Linked DNA regions of Homo sapiens: region 1 is linked to region 2. Evidence: promoter capture Hi-C in human tissues and cell types (Jung and others, 2019). All regions are on one chromosome and are shown on one strand. The core of a region is centred on a gene start or on the middle of the fragment in contact, and the rest is flanking DNA. Distances in the headings are between cores, read along the strand shown.

Region 1 (6,319 bases), core at 3,205-5,704, 230 kb before region 2:
CTGACTGTGACTCCCCGATGGGCTGCATTTGGGCAGGAACGTGAGCGCCACCTACCTGTACCAGGTGGCACTCATGAGGGCGATCTGGGCCGTTCCTATGAATTGCACACGTGTCCTGTGCGTTACGGGAAAGCCGGGATGGGGCATCGGGCTTCTCCCTCTGGTCCACTGATGGGGGAGGCCTCACAGGAAAACACTCCCTGAGCTGCCGGAGGGTGGGGCAGGGACCCCTGTGCTGATGCCGGGGTGCAAAGCTGTAAGCAACCTGTTGGTCCCCCAGCGGCGAGGTGGAGGCTGCAGGGCCAAGGCTGGCTTTTTCCACCACGCACAGGCCTGGGATAACTTAGCAGGCTTGAGGGGAAGATGGCAGGGCGAGGGGTTGGGGGAGCGCAGTTAGATTTCTCTTACCCCCAGCCCCCGTTAGGAGATGGGGCTGGAGACGCTCTGTGCAGGTGCCTGGCAAGACCAGGAAGGGATGCTCCATGTGGCAAACACACCCCTGAATGCCTGGCTGCGTGTACTTGGGTGTGTATACGCACCTCTAGGCTGTAGGAACGTTTGCAGTATCTGTAGGCACGGTCCTGCCAGGCCTGGGTCTCAGTCCCAGAAACCAAGTATGTGTCTCTGTGTGGCCTGAGCGTGGTTCACAGCAAACGCCGCCACCCACACGGTCATGCGTGCACACGTGGTCCCTCTGTGTGTGTGTGAACGTGGTGTGTACATAAGGACCCACTTAGCTGCATCTCCAGGTGGATGCAGATATTTTGGAACATCTGGTCAACCCCAGGGGAAACCGTATTACTGACCTTTGTCAAACCTGCCTAGAGCCTCCACTCTGAGCTGCCTCTGCCCTGGGCTCCGAGCCAGGGTTTGCCCAAGGTCACGGTGGGAGGTGAGGAGAGGGGTTTCCAAACCTTCATAATACTGTGTCTTTGGCCTTGGTGACATCTTCGGCCAGCAGCTTAGAGGTGTGTGTGTGTTGGTGTTGGTGGGCAGCGGGAGAAGGATCCCGTTCCCCTGCCCTCCGCCCCCGCCAACACCTTGAACCTGGGGGCCTCGCTGGGCAGGCAGGCTGGCTGAGGGGAGCTTGTACTACTGTTTGAAGAAGGTTCAGAAGGTGGGGACAAGAAGCCCTGGCGACTGCCTTGGCCTGGAAGTGGCTTCGGAAAAGGGGCCCCCACTTGGCTCTTAAAGACTGGATGCTCCCCCTTGGTGTCTGCATGGATAAACTTACCCCCTCCCCAGCCCCCGCCGGCCCCTCTGGGGAGACCCGAGGGAGAATGGGCGGAAAAAGAGGACAGGGCCGCTAAGATGGTCCTCAGGGCAGCTCCTTCTGGACAGAGGGGCCTGGCCGGATCCCCTCTGCCTCCACTGACAAACTCCAGAAGCTGCCGGGTGTCCAGGCTGAAGGTCCCCGGGTCAGGCCGGGGCTGTACCGTTCACACTCTCTGTAGAAGGCTGGGCTTGAGGAAGCGTCCTGGTCTGGCGAGGGATCGGGGTGGGGGATTGTCCGCGGCGGTGAGTACGTTATTGTTACAAACACTGTTTTGTCTCCAAAGTGACAGTCCCGGCTCCTGCCTGGAGGAGGTACTGCCGGGCAGCCGCGTGGGGCTCTGGTGTGGACTGGGCTGCTCCACAGTATCCCCTCAGGATCAGTGCTTGTCCTAGAGAGAGTAAAGGGCATCATCAGCAAGGGTCTCAGAGAGCCTGGAGGGCCAGGCGGCCAGAGGGGAGTCAGGGAGGAAAGGAGTTGGGGCCGGGTGGGGGAGGAGCATAGAGCGAACTGCATGTGCCAAGGCCCTGAGGCAGGAAGTGTCTCCCTGCTGTGTGTTTGTGGCTGTGTGAGACAGCAGGTGGGGTGGGAGGTGCTGATGGGAAGCGGAGCCGAGGGGAAGAAGCAGGTTTTTTGTTTGTTTGTGTGTTTGTTTGTTTTAAGACGGAGTCTTGCTCTGTCGCCAGGCTGGAGTGCAGTGGTCTGATCTCAGCTCACTGCAACCTTCGACTCCCTGGTTCAAGCGATTCTCCTGCTTCAGCCTCCTGAGTAGCTGGGATAACAGGCATGCGCCACCATGCCCAGCTAATTTTTGTATTTTTAGTAGAGATGGGGTTTCACCATGTTGACCAGGATGGTCTTGATCTCCTGACCTCATGATCCACCCACCTCGGCCTCCCAAAGTTCTGGGATTACAGGCATGAGCCACTGCGCCCAGCCAGAAGCAGGTTTTACAAAGAGCCCTCAGTGCCTGTACGGGGCTGGATCTCTCTCTCTTTTTTTTTTTTTTTTTTGAGACAGTCTCACTGTTGCTCAGGCTAGAGTGCAGTGGCACGATCTTGGCTCACTGCAACCTCTGCCTCCCGGGTTCAAGCGATTCTCCTGCCTCAGCCTCCCGAGTAGCTGGGACTACAGGCATGTGCCACCACACCCAGATGATTTTTTTTTTTTTGTATTTTTAGTAGAGATGGGGTTTCGCTATGTTGGCCAGGCTGGTCTCAAACTCCTGACCTCAAGTGATCCACCTGCCTTGGCCTCCTAAAGTGCTGGGATTATAGGTGTGAGCCACTGCACCTGGACAGTTTTCACATCTGTGAACTGGGATGACCCCATGTGTCTCGCAGGGTGGCCAGGAGAACAAGGCCAGGAGGACAAAATCACACTAACTCCTCTGAGGCTGGCTCTGCCCACATAACCCTGCCTGTGTCTGGAGCTTGGCAGATTCTGTGGCTGTGCTGCTCCTGTTTCTAGCGAGCATCTGTGCTCCAGGGATTCTGCAGTCAGAACTAGGTTCTCTCTCTTTCTGTGTTCTTCTTAGAGACAGGGTCTCACTTTATCACCAAGGCTGGAGTGCAGTGGCGCAATCCTAGCTCACTGCAGCCTCAAACTCCTGGGCTTGAGTGATCCTCTTGCCTTAGCCTCCTGAGTAGCTGAGGCTACAGGCATGCGCCACCACACCTAGCTAATTTTTAAAATTTTTATTACTATTTTTTGAGACAGTTTTGTGCTTGTTGCCCAGGCTGGAGTGCAATGGTGCGATCTCGGCTCACTGCAACCTCCACCTGCCAGGTTCAAGCGATTCTCCTGCCTCAGCTTCCCGTGTAGCTGGGATTACAGGTGTGCGCCACCCTACCCAGCTAATTTTGTATTTTTTTTTTTTTTTGGTTTTTTTTTTTTTTGAGATGGAGTCTCGCTCTGTCGCCCAGGCTGGAGTCCAGTGGCGCGATCTCGGCTCATTGCAAGCTCCGCCTTCCGGGTTCATGCCATTATCCTGCCTCAGCCTCCAGAGTAGCTGGAACTACAGGTGCCCGCCACCACGCCCAGCTAATTTTTTTTTGTATTTTTAGTAGAGATGGGGTTTCACCGTGGTAGCCAGGATGGTCTTGATCTCCTGACCTTGTGATCCGCCCGCCAGATGGAGTTTCACCATATTGGCCAGGCTGGTCTCAAATTCCTGACCTCAAGTGACCCACCGGCCTCGGCCTCCCAAAGTGTTGGGATTACAGACATGAGCCACTGTGCCCAGCCTTTTTAAAATTTTTTTTTTTTAATAGAGAGAGGGTCTCGCTATATTGTCCACCCTACCCGGCTAATTTTGTATTTTCAGTAGAGACGGAGTTTTACCATATTGGCCAGGCTGGTCTCAAACTCCTGGGCTCAAATGATCCTCCTGCCTTGGCCTCCCAAAGTGCTGGGGTTACAGGCGTGGGCCACTGCGCCCAACCTATAACTTTTTTAAGAAGGGAAGAAAACACAAATCAAAAAGAGCAGGGTGAATCTGGAATCAAGTTTGCCTGCAACAGCACCCTCCCTGAGGGACCCTACTGTAAAGCTTCTTGCAGAATGCATCTTTGTGTGTATTCTTAGTGACGTTTCAAGGATTTTCTCCAGAGAGGTCTGCCTGCACGGGAGGGACCTGGGAGGCCCGAGGCGCCCCTCACCTCTTGTTTCTGAGCTTTGTCCTGCTGGTGGATGCCGTTTGCAGAACCGGAATTGCCGATGGTCTGGAAGAGTTAGGGGAGACACTGAGCCAGGTGCACCAGGCAGCAGTTCCCGATTTTCCCACTAGATGGCGAGGTCTTCCCATGGGACCGTCTCAGGCTCCAAATTCCAACCCCTTCAGCCTGGGGCTCCCAGCACCCCCAAAGACCAAGCCTCTAGGGGTAAGGCTGCATCTTCCTTCTTAGTCTAAGCTCCTCAGGGCAAAGCCATGTGCCCCTTGAACTGGGGGTTCCAGAGGGCAGGGCTCCCTCCCCTTTCAGCTGGGTTCCCAGGACAGAGCTGCCTCCCGCTTTAGATCAGGGTTCCTGGGCCAGGGCTGCCTCCCATTTCTGATGGAGGTTCCTGGGACAGCGCCACCTCCCCCTTCAGACCAGGGTTCCCGGGACAGAGCTGCCTCCCCCTTCAGACCAGGGTTCCGGGACAGAGCTGCCTCCCTCTTCAGATCAAGGTTCCCGGGACAGAGATGCCTTCCCTTTCAGACTAGGGTTCCCAGGACAGAGCTGCCTCTCCCTTCAGATCAAGGTTCCTAGGACAGAAATGCCTCCCCCTTCAGACTAGGGTTCCCGGGACAGAGCTACCTCCCCCTTCAGACCGGGGGCTTCTGGGACAGAGCTGCCTCCCCCTTCACATCAGGGTTCCTGGGACAGAGCTGCCTCCCCCTTCAGACCAGGGGTTCCCGGGACAGAGCTACCTCCCCATTCAGACCCGGGTTCCTGAGACAGGGCTGCCTCCCCCTTCAGACTGGGGTTCCCAGGACAGAGCTGCCTCCTTCTTCAAACCAGGGTTTCTGGGACAGGGCTACCTCCCCCTTCAGACCAGGTTCCTGGGACGAGCTCCCTACCTCCTCAGACTGGGGTTTTAAAGACAAGGCTGCCTCCCGCATCAGACGGGGGCTCCGAGGACACTGCCCCGTGGCTTGCCTCCTGGTGGGCCCTGTCAGCCGCGGCTCACCTGGGCCTTGTCAGGGCAGCTCCTCATGGCCTCCATCAGCTTCTCCACCTGCTGAGCCTGGTCCAGCGCATCCCGCAGGGCGTCCTCCGTGCTCATCAGCTGGTGCTGCAGCCGCAGAAGCTCGGGCGCCGAGGACCGGTCGATGAGGGAGTAGCGCCTCTGATCCGACAGGGATTTCTCTTTGTCCTGGAAGTGGCAGGAGAGTGGAAGAGTACATGAGTGTGCGTGTGTGTGTTGGTGGGCGTCTCAACTCTAGGCAGGAAAGTCTTCCAGCCTCACTTTGTCTCTGGGTTCCAAGCCTGGGCATCACCCAGAGGTCCCTCAGGCCTCTGTGAGGTGCTCCATGGTCTCCAAGTGGGGAACCCAGGACCCCATCCCTCTTGACTTTTTTTTTTTTTTTTTTTTTGAGACAGAGTCTCGCTCTATCACCTAGGCTGGAGTGCAGTGGCGCGATCTTGGGTCTCTGCAAGCTCCGCCTCCCGGGTTCATGCCATTCTCCTGCCTCAGCCTCCTGAGTAGCTGGGAGGGGCCCACCACCACGCCCCGCTAATTTTTTCCTATTTTTAGTAGAGACGTGGTTTCACCGTGTTAGCCAGGATGGTCTCAATCTCCTGACCTCGTGATCCACCCGCCTCGGCTTCCCAAAGTGCTGGGATTACAGGCATGAGCCACTGCGCCCAGCCTTGCCTTTAAAAATAATTAAAAAAAGAGACAGAGACCGAGCCTGGTGGCTCACGCCTGTAATCCCAGCACTTTGGGAGGCCGAGGCAGGCAGATCACCTGAGGTCAGGAGTTCGAGACCAGCCTGGTCAACATGGTAAAACCCCATTTCTACTAAAAGTACAAAAATTAGCAGGGTGTGGTGGCTCACATCTGTAGTCCCAGCTACTCTGGAGGCCTAGGCAGGAGAATCGCTTGAACCCGGGAGGTGGAGGTTGCAGTGAGCCAAGATCATGCCACTGCACTCCAGCCTGGGCGACAGAGTGAGACTTGGTCCCCACCCCCCCCCCCCCAAAAAAAGACTGAGTCTCACTCTATTGTGCAGGCTGGAGTGCAGTGGTGCAATCACAGCTCATTACAGCCTCCAATTCCTGGGCTCAAGTGATCCTCCCACCTCAGCCTCCCGAGTAGCTGATACTGCAGGGCATGCAACCACACTTGGCTAATTTTTAACTTTTTTTGTAGAGATGCGGTCTTGTTATGAGGTCCAGGCTGGTCTCGAACTCCTGACCTCAAGCCATCCTCCCAACTTGGCCTCCCAAAGCAGTGGGATTATAGGCATGAGCCACCGCACCCAGCACCCTTCTTCTTACACTGCCCCCACCCAACTGTCTTATGAGGTTCCTCCTCTCCATAGTCACCCCCACCATGGCA
Region 2 (6,151 bases), core at 3,538-6,037:
ACACATTCCAAGAGTGGAGACAGATGCAGGTATGAGAATCCAGCTGTGTTCTATTAAGCCAGACATTTAGAAGGCTCCAAAAATGTGAGTACACAGAAGGCTCCAAAAATGTGAGTATACATGAAAGACAGGAGAAGAATGTGCAGAACAAAGGGAGGTGACGGCCCCCCTAGCCCTGAACTGGAAGGCCATGCTTAACCAGAGACTCATCAACCGTGGAGCAGCCACATACTTGAGCTCCTTCAGAAGGTCCTGATCAAGACGGAAAATCACATAAATCATGACGTGGGGAAACTTCGAAGAACATTCGACTTACACAAAAGAAGTCTTAGACGTACATACAGCTGCCATTAGGTTCTATGAAAATGATGCAATCACACTCATTTCATGCCCGGGTGTGCAGGTCTAATCAGCATGATGTAAAAGCAACCAGGCGACAAATACTCTCCTGAACCTTCCAGGGGAAGCTGGAAGCCAGAGTGTGATCCTGGAAAGACATTCAGAGTCTGCTTTGTACGTTCTAAGCTTCCAGGGAGACTCCTTAAAATTGTGAAGTCTTTCCAGAACACTAAGCTTAATTTTTCTTTTTTTTTTTTTGGAGACAGTCTCTCTCTGTCGCCCAGGCTGGAGGAGTGCAGTGGCATGATCTCAGCTCAATGCAACCTCCGCCTCCCTGGTTCAAGCAATTCTCCTGCCTCAGCCTCCCAAGTAGCTAGGATTACAGGTATGTGCCGCCACACCCGTTTTGTATTTTTAGTAGACATGGGGTTTTGCCACGTTGGTCAGGGTGGTCTCAAACTTCTGGCCACAAGTGATCCGCCTGCTTCGGCCTTCCAAAGTGCTGGGATAACAGGCATGAACCACTGCACCCAGCCACAAAGCTTAATTTCTAATAGAAACATAAATTGAAGGCTGGGTACTGTGGCTCACACAATGAGCCTTGGGAGGCTGAGGCAGGAAGATCCCTTGAGCCCAGGGGTTTGAGACTAGCCTGGGCAACATAGAGACACTCTGTCTCTACAAAAAAATACAAAAATTAGCTGGGCATGGTGGCGCACCCTGTAATCCCAGCTACTTGGGAGGCTGAGGTGGGAGGATGGCTTGAGCCTGGGAAGTCGAGGCTGCACTGAGCTATGATCCTGCCACTGCACTCCAGCCTGGGTGACAGAAGGAGAGCCTATTTCATAAATAAATACATGTTTCTAACTCATATGTGGGGAAAACGAGGCTCAGAGAGGTGAAGAAACTTACTTCAGATCACACAACTAACACATGGCTGAACTGATGAAACTCTGGTCTGCCTTATTCCAAAGCCAGGGCTTTTACATGAACCGTCATGCAGAGACCTCTTAGCAAATCCAAATATTTCTGGTAACACTTTTCATAGAGGATAATGGTTTGGAACTAAGCAATGGAACACTTGGAGTGAAGAAGGATAACAAACCTAAACGACTTGACATTTGACATGTAAACAGCATTTTAAAATAAGCTTTTCAATAGCTTTACAGGCCCTAGCATCAGTGAAAACTAGCTGTAGTTTTTATACACTGCTTTCCTTCCTATTACATACAAATCTTAAAATATGCTCAGAGACAGGAAGTAGAATGGTGGTTGCCAGGGACCTGGGGGAAGGAGGGCAATAGGGAATTACTATTCAAAGGGGACAGGGTTTTAGTTTTACAAGCTGTAAGAGTTAAGGAGCTGGATAGTGGTGATGGTTATACATTACGAATACACTCAATATCCCTGAAATGTATACTGAAAAATGGGTAAAGTGGCACATTTTATGTTATGTATATTTTACCACCATAAAAATTTTGGATAAAAATATGCTCAGAAATTTAGACAGACATGCTAAGTTTAAAGATTCAAAGGTTAGAATTCTAAACTCCTAGGCTGGGCGTGGTAGCTCATGCCTGTAATCCCAACACTTTGGGAGGCTGAGGCGGGAGGATCACTTGAGTCCAAGAGTTCAAGACCAGCCTGGGCAACATAGTGAAACCCATCTCTATTTAAAAAAGAATTCTAAACTCCCTAACTGAATCCTGATAAAGAATAAATTTGGAGTTTTGCCAGTTTTTAGATGGCACCATTTCAGCCACCTCAATTCTTGCCACCTCCAATTTCCACCCTAATTCTCAGGATCGGTGGTTTTCCACTAAGCACTCATAGCTTTGTTGCAATTAGAAATATAAAATCAGTATTACTCTGCACTTTACTGCCAATGGTAGATGAGAAACTGGAACCTCAAAAAGATAATTTAGCAAACTGCAAAACAAAGTCCATTCAAGATCTGGTACAATCAACTCTTGATCATTTGGAATTTTGTTTTGATTTGCTTGCTGAACAATGCAGTCCCTGGTTCTCTCCCTGGCTGCTGGGGACATGCCCTTACAGGCTCGGGGGAAAAAAGCAGTGGTTCAATACTGTTTCCTGACAACTGCACTGGTTATTAAACACAACTACGAAATAAACTTAGGAAGATGTATAACTACCAAACTATGTTTTATGATGATAACTGTTCATTTTAGGCCTACCATTTCTTTCACCTGTGACCCAAGTAATTCAGAGGTGAGATGTACGAGCCTGTCTGAGGCATTTTAGACAAGGGAGAAGGTGCCTACACAAGTACCAAACAATGCAGTGTTAAAACTGCTTTCCATAGGTGGCAATCTTCTATGATGCTTAAGCATTGTAAAGCAGTGACATTTGTTCATGTGGACATAATTAAAATAATTGAGGCCGGGCGCGGTGGCTAATGCCTGTAATCCCAGCACTTTGGGAGGCTGAGGCAGGAGAATCGCTTAAACCCGGGAGGTGGAGGTTGCAGTGAGCCGAGATCACACCATTGCACTCCAGCTTGGGCAACAAGAGTGAAACTCCATCTCAAAAAAAAAAAAAAAGAATACACATGTATAAATGAATATGTAAATTCACCAACAAGTTTTTAAAACTACTTCTGAAAGTAGCAATACTTTATGTAGTTTCACATTAATATGAAGCCAAATAGAAAATTCCAAGTAAGTGAGACATAGAAGATGCTTAACAGTAAAGAGACTTTCTATTAGGAAGTTCAAGTGATGCACAGTGCTACCTAGGAAACTCTCCTATCAGTTTTTGGAGTACACCTGGGGCAAATGGCTAATATTTTCATCTGCTGTGGAGATTTGAAATTAATAGCATCTTAATAGAATTTTACTTCTGATTGTTCCTGGCACCCCCAAATGTCAAAATTTGACACCAGAAGAGCTGGCAAATGTGTCTGAAGGAAATTTTTTTAAATCCCCACACTCAGTTTAATAAGGTCACCTTATTGTAGTCCCAATGCAACTAAAACTTAAATTGACCACGCTGTTTAAGAAGAATTTTTCTGGGTACTTCTGTGAACGTTTTTTGGAACTAGGAAAAAAAAAAAAACCCTAGTTATTAAATTTCGAAATGACTTGAGAACAAATTTGATGTTTAGAAACCTAACCCAAAGGCGATAATTTCATGTCATCCAACATTTACTTCTTTTTTTATTAGCAAATAAAATGTTCTTTGGAATGACAATAGCTCCACCTACACCGGCACACTTCCACGTTACAGTATCATGAACATTAGCTACACTCCTGCCCCGAAACAAGCTTTTGTCTGAGCCGTTCCCAAACCAAGGTATTAAAAGTGATCATTCTTTACCAAACAAAGATACTTTTGGACTGCAACCCAGGAGACTGAACACCTCAGTGTGTATTATTGTGGTGTTATCCTGGGAAAGTAATCCTTTCTGCAAGAAAACACAAAGCCCAAGTGTGTCCTTGACAAACAGCAAGATGTTCATAGCCTATATTCTAACGAGGCAACTTGTATTTAAAAAATAAAATAAAAAAAAGTGCAGAGTCCTGGAATTAAACACCATGAGCTCTCTATTCAAAGATGTTTCTTTTAAGCAAAGTGTTTCAATTATACATAGTTGTCTGCATTTGACAACAATCAGGACGACGCTAAATGCGGTTCCTTCTCCAGATCAGAGCGAGAAACCAAGGAGAAATGAAATTGTGCCAAAGAGCACGTAGCACCTGTCAAGGCACTGTGACCCAAGAAAGATTAATACAAAGAAGCTACGATGGATTTATCTCCTTGGTCTCCCCCCGCCCGCAAGGAGTCGTACCATCCCCGGGCCAGAGCCGCCAAATCCCTGCCTCACACGTAAGGGGAAGGGAATCGCCCCTCTTGGCTGCCGACCTTCCCCAGTCGGCCGGCCTCGTGGCGAAGGGGCCAGGGGCCTGCAAGGCGGGCAGGCAACAGAGGGCCGCGAAAGAGGCCGGGACCGGAGCGGGGCAGGCCGTGTGGCCCGTACCCCAGCGCCACAGCTCAGCCCCGCACTGGTCCTACCGTAGGGGGGATGGGGCTGGAAGCGGGCGCTCGTCTCCGGGCATCGGCGCCGCCGCGGCCAAGGCAGGGCAAAAACCAACACGTTGTCGTTGGCGGGAGGCAGTGGAAGGGATCCGCCCCGCAAGCAAGACCCCGGGAGCCCAGCCGCCGCCGCCCCGTCTCCGAGCGCGCCATTTCCAGGCCCCGGCCCTCCAGGCGCCGCTCCTAGGCCTCCGCGGGCCCCCGCCTCCCGCCGCCCCGGCTGAGCGCAGGACGGCCGCCACCCTGACGGCCCCGACTCCGCCGGTCCCGCAGCCCCCGACGGGGCCCGCGCACGCCCGCCTCACCCTCTGCCGCCGCCGAAGCTGCTGTAGGCCCGATCGTCGTAGGTGTCGAAGTCCGCCATTTGCCGTCTCCGCTCCGAGAGGAACCAGGGTGAGCGAGGAAGGACCCCGCAATATAACTCCCCCCGCCCCGCCGCCGGGGCTGTCCGCCGCGCCGCCTGATCGCAAATCCCTTGGACGCAGGCACGCGCACGCGCGCGCGCGCACGCACGCACGGACGCTGGCCGCGCAGCGCCCGGCCCTGGGCCCACCGGCAGCTGCCTGCCCCGTGCGCTCTGCAGCCCACGTGGTGCGGCGGCGTCCCAGCTGGACGCCTGCCCGGCCTACGCGGCCCATTATGTGCTGGCCCTGGGGTGCGCCCGTGGCTGCCTCCTATCCCCGCCGCACCACGCCCGTGCGCGCCGGCCTTTCCGTCCGTCGGCGGGAGGTGACCTGGAGAGCTGGGGGGAACTCCCTCTCCAGTTCGCCTGGGACGCTGCCTTTCGGCCTCCATACATGGCGGGGACCTCGGAGGCCTGTCCCGCTTGGACCCCCAAGTGGTCCCCGGGTGACACCCAAGTAAAGGCCACCTCCTTCTCCAGGCAGGAGCTGGCCACACGATGAGGATGCCCCGGAAGGGGGTGCGAGGCGGTGGGATGCAGACACGAATCCTGCCTTCCAGGGCTTACTCGCTGCCTGGGTATTGGGGGGTTTTGAGAGGAGAGAGTATAGGTGATCGGTGACTTAGCAAGAGAGACTGCACATCTCGGTTTTTTGCAGAAGTCGTTGCCTTGGAAAAAGAATTGGATACTGTTGTGGATTCCATCATCTAGCAATAACAAAACATGGTTATGCAGTGGGAATTAATTACACGGGTAAATTTCCAGGTTTGTGATTGAGATGGTAGTAATTGTGGATGCCACGATGTTGACAAACCTTAATTATCTAAGCACACTTTGAAAGAACCTCATAGAATTTTGTTGTGATGTGTACCTAGGTATCTTCCGCTTAACCATTACTTTTTATTATGTATTTATTGGTTCGTTGTTGAGACAGGGTCTCGCTCTGTCGCCCAGGCTGGACTGCGGTGGAACAGTGGTAGCTCACGGCAGCCTTGACCTCTTGGGCTCATGCCATCCTGCCGCCTTAGCCTCTGGAGTAGCTAGGACTATAGGCGGGCAGTACCTCGCCTAATTTGCATTTTTTTTTTTTTTTTTTTGAGATGGAGAATCAGGTTGGAGTGCAGTGGCGCAATCTCATCTCACTGCAACCTCCACCTCCTCGGTTCAAGCAATTCTCCTGCCTCTGTCTCCCGAGTAACTGGGGTGACAGACGTGCACCACCACACCCAGTTAATTTTTGTATTTTTAGTAGAGACAGCGTTTCACCATGTTGCCCAGGCTGGTCTTGAACTGAGATCCACCCGCCTTGGCCTCCCAAAGTGCTGGGATTACAGGCATGAGCCACCGTGCCTG

Evidence for each region. The method cuts DNA at HindIII sites, captures the fragments that hold promoters and counts their contacts. A contact is called where the count stands out against the background at its distance.
Region 1: a contact is called between a fragment that was not itself captured here and the fragment with the promoter of EIF4H in region 2, in 1 of the 25 tissues and cell types used here (lymphoblastoid cells).

Annotation. Positions count from the first base shown.
Region 1 is chr7:74,399,182-74,405,500 of GRCh38, reverse strand. CLIP2 (CAP-Gly domain containing linker protein 2) reads right to left here. Exons shown (of 17, transcript NM_003388.5): 15 at 4,946-5,131; 16 at 3,934-3,996; 17 at 1-1,664. The coding sequence ends at 1,653. Among named protein-coding and RNA genes, the nearest start is that of GTF2IRD1, 52 kb to the left of the region's middle. RefSeq lists an enhancer at 1-835. The HindIII fragment of the contact is 5,500 bases long and covers 1,705-6,319 here.
Region 2 is chr7:74,172,992-74,179,142 of GRCh38, reverse strand. EIF4H (eukaryotic translation initiation factor 4H) reads right to left here and starts at 4,787. Exons shown (of 7, transcript NM_022170.2): 1 at 4,701-4,787. The coding sequence starts at 4,759. RefSeq lists enhancers at 3,722-4,234, 4,235-4,748, 4,730-5,024 and a silencer at 4,527-5,036. The HindIII fragment of the contact is 15,155 bases long and covers 2,559-6,151 here.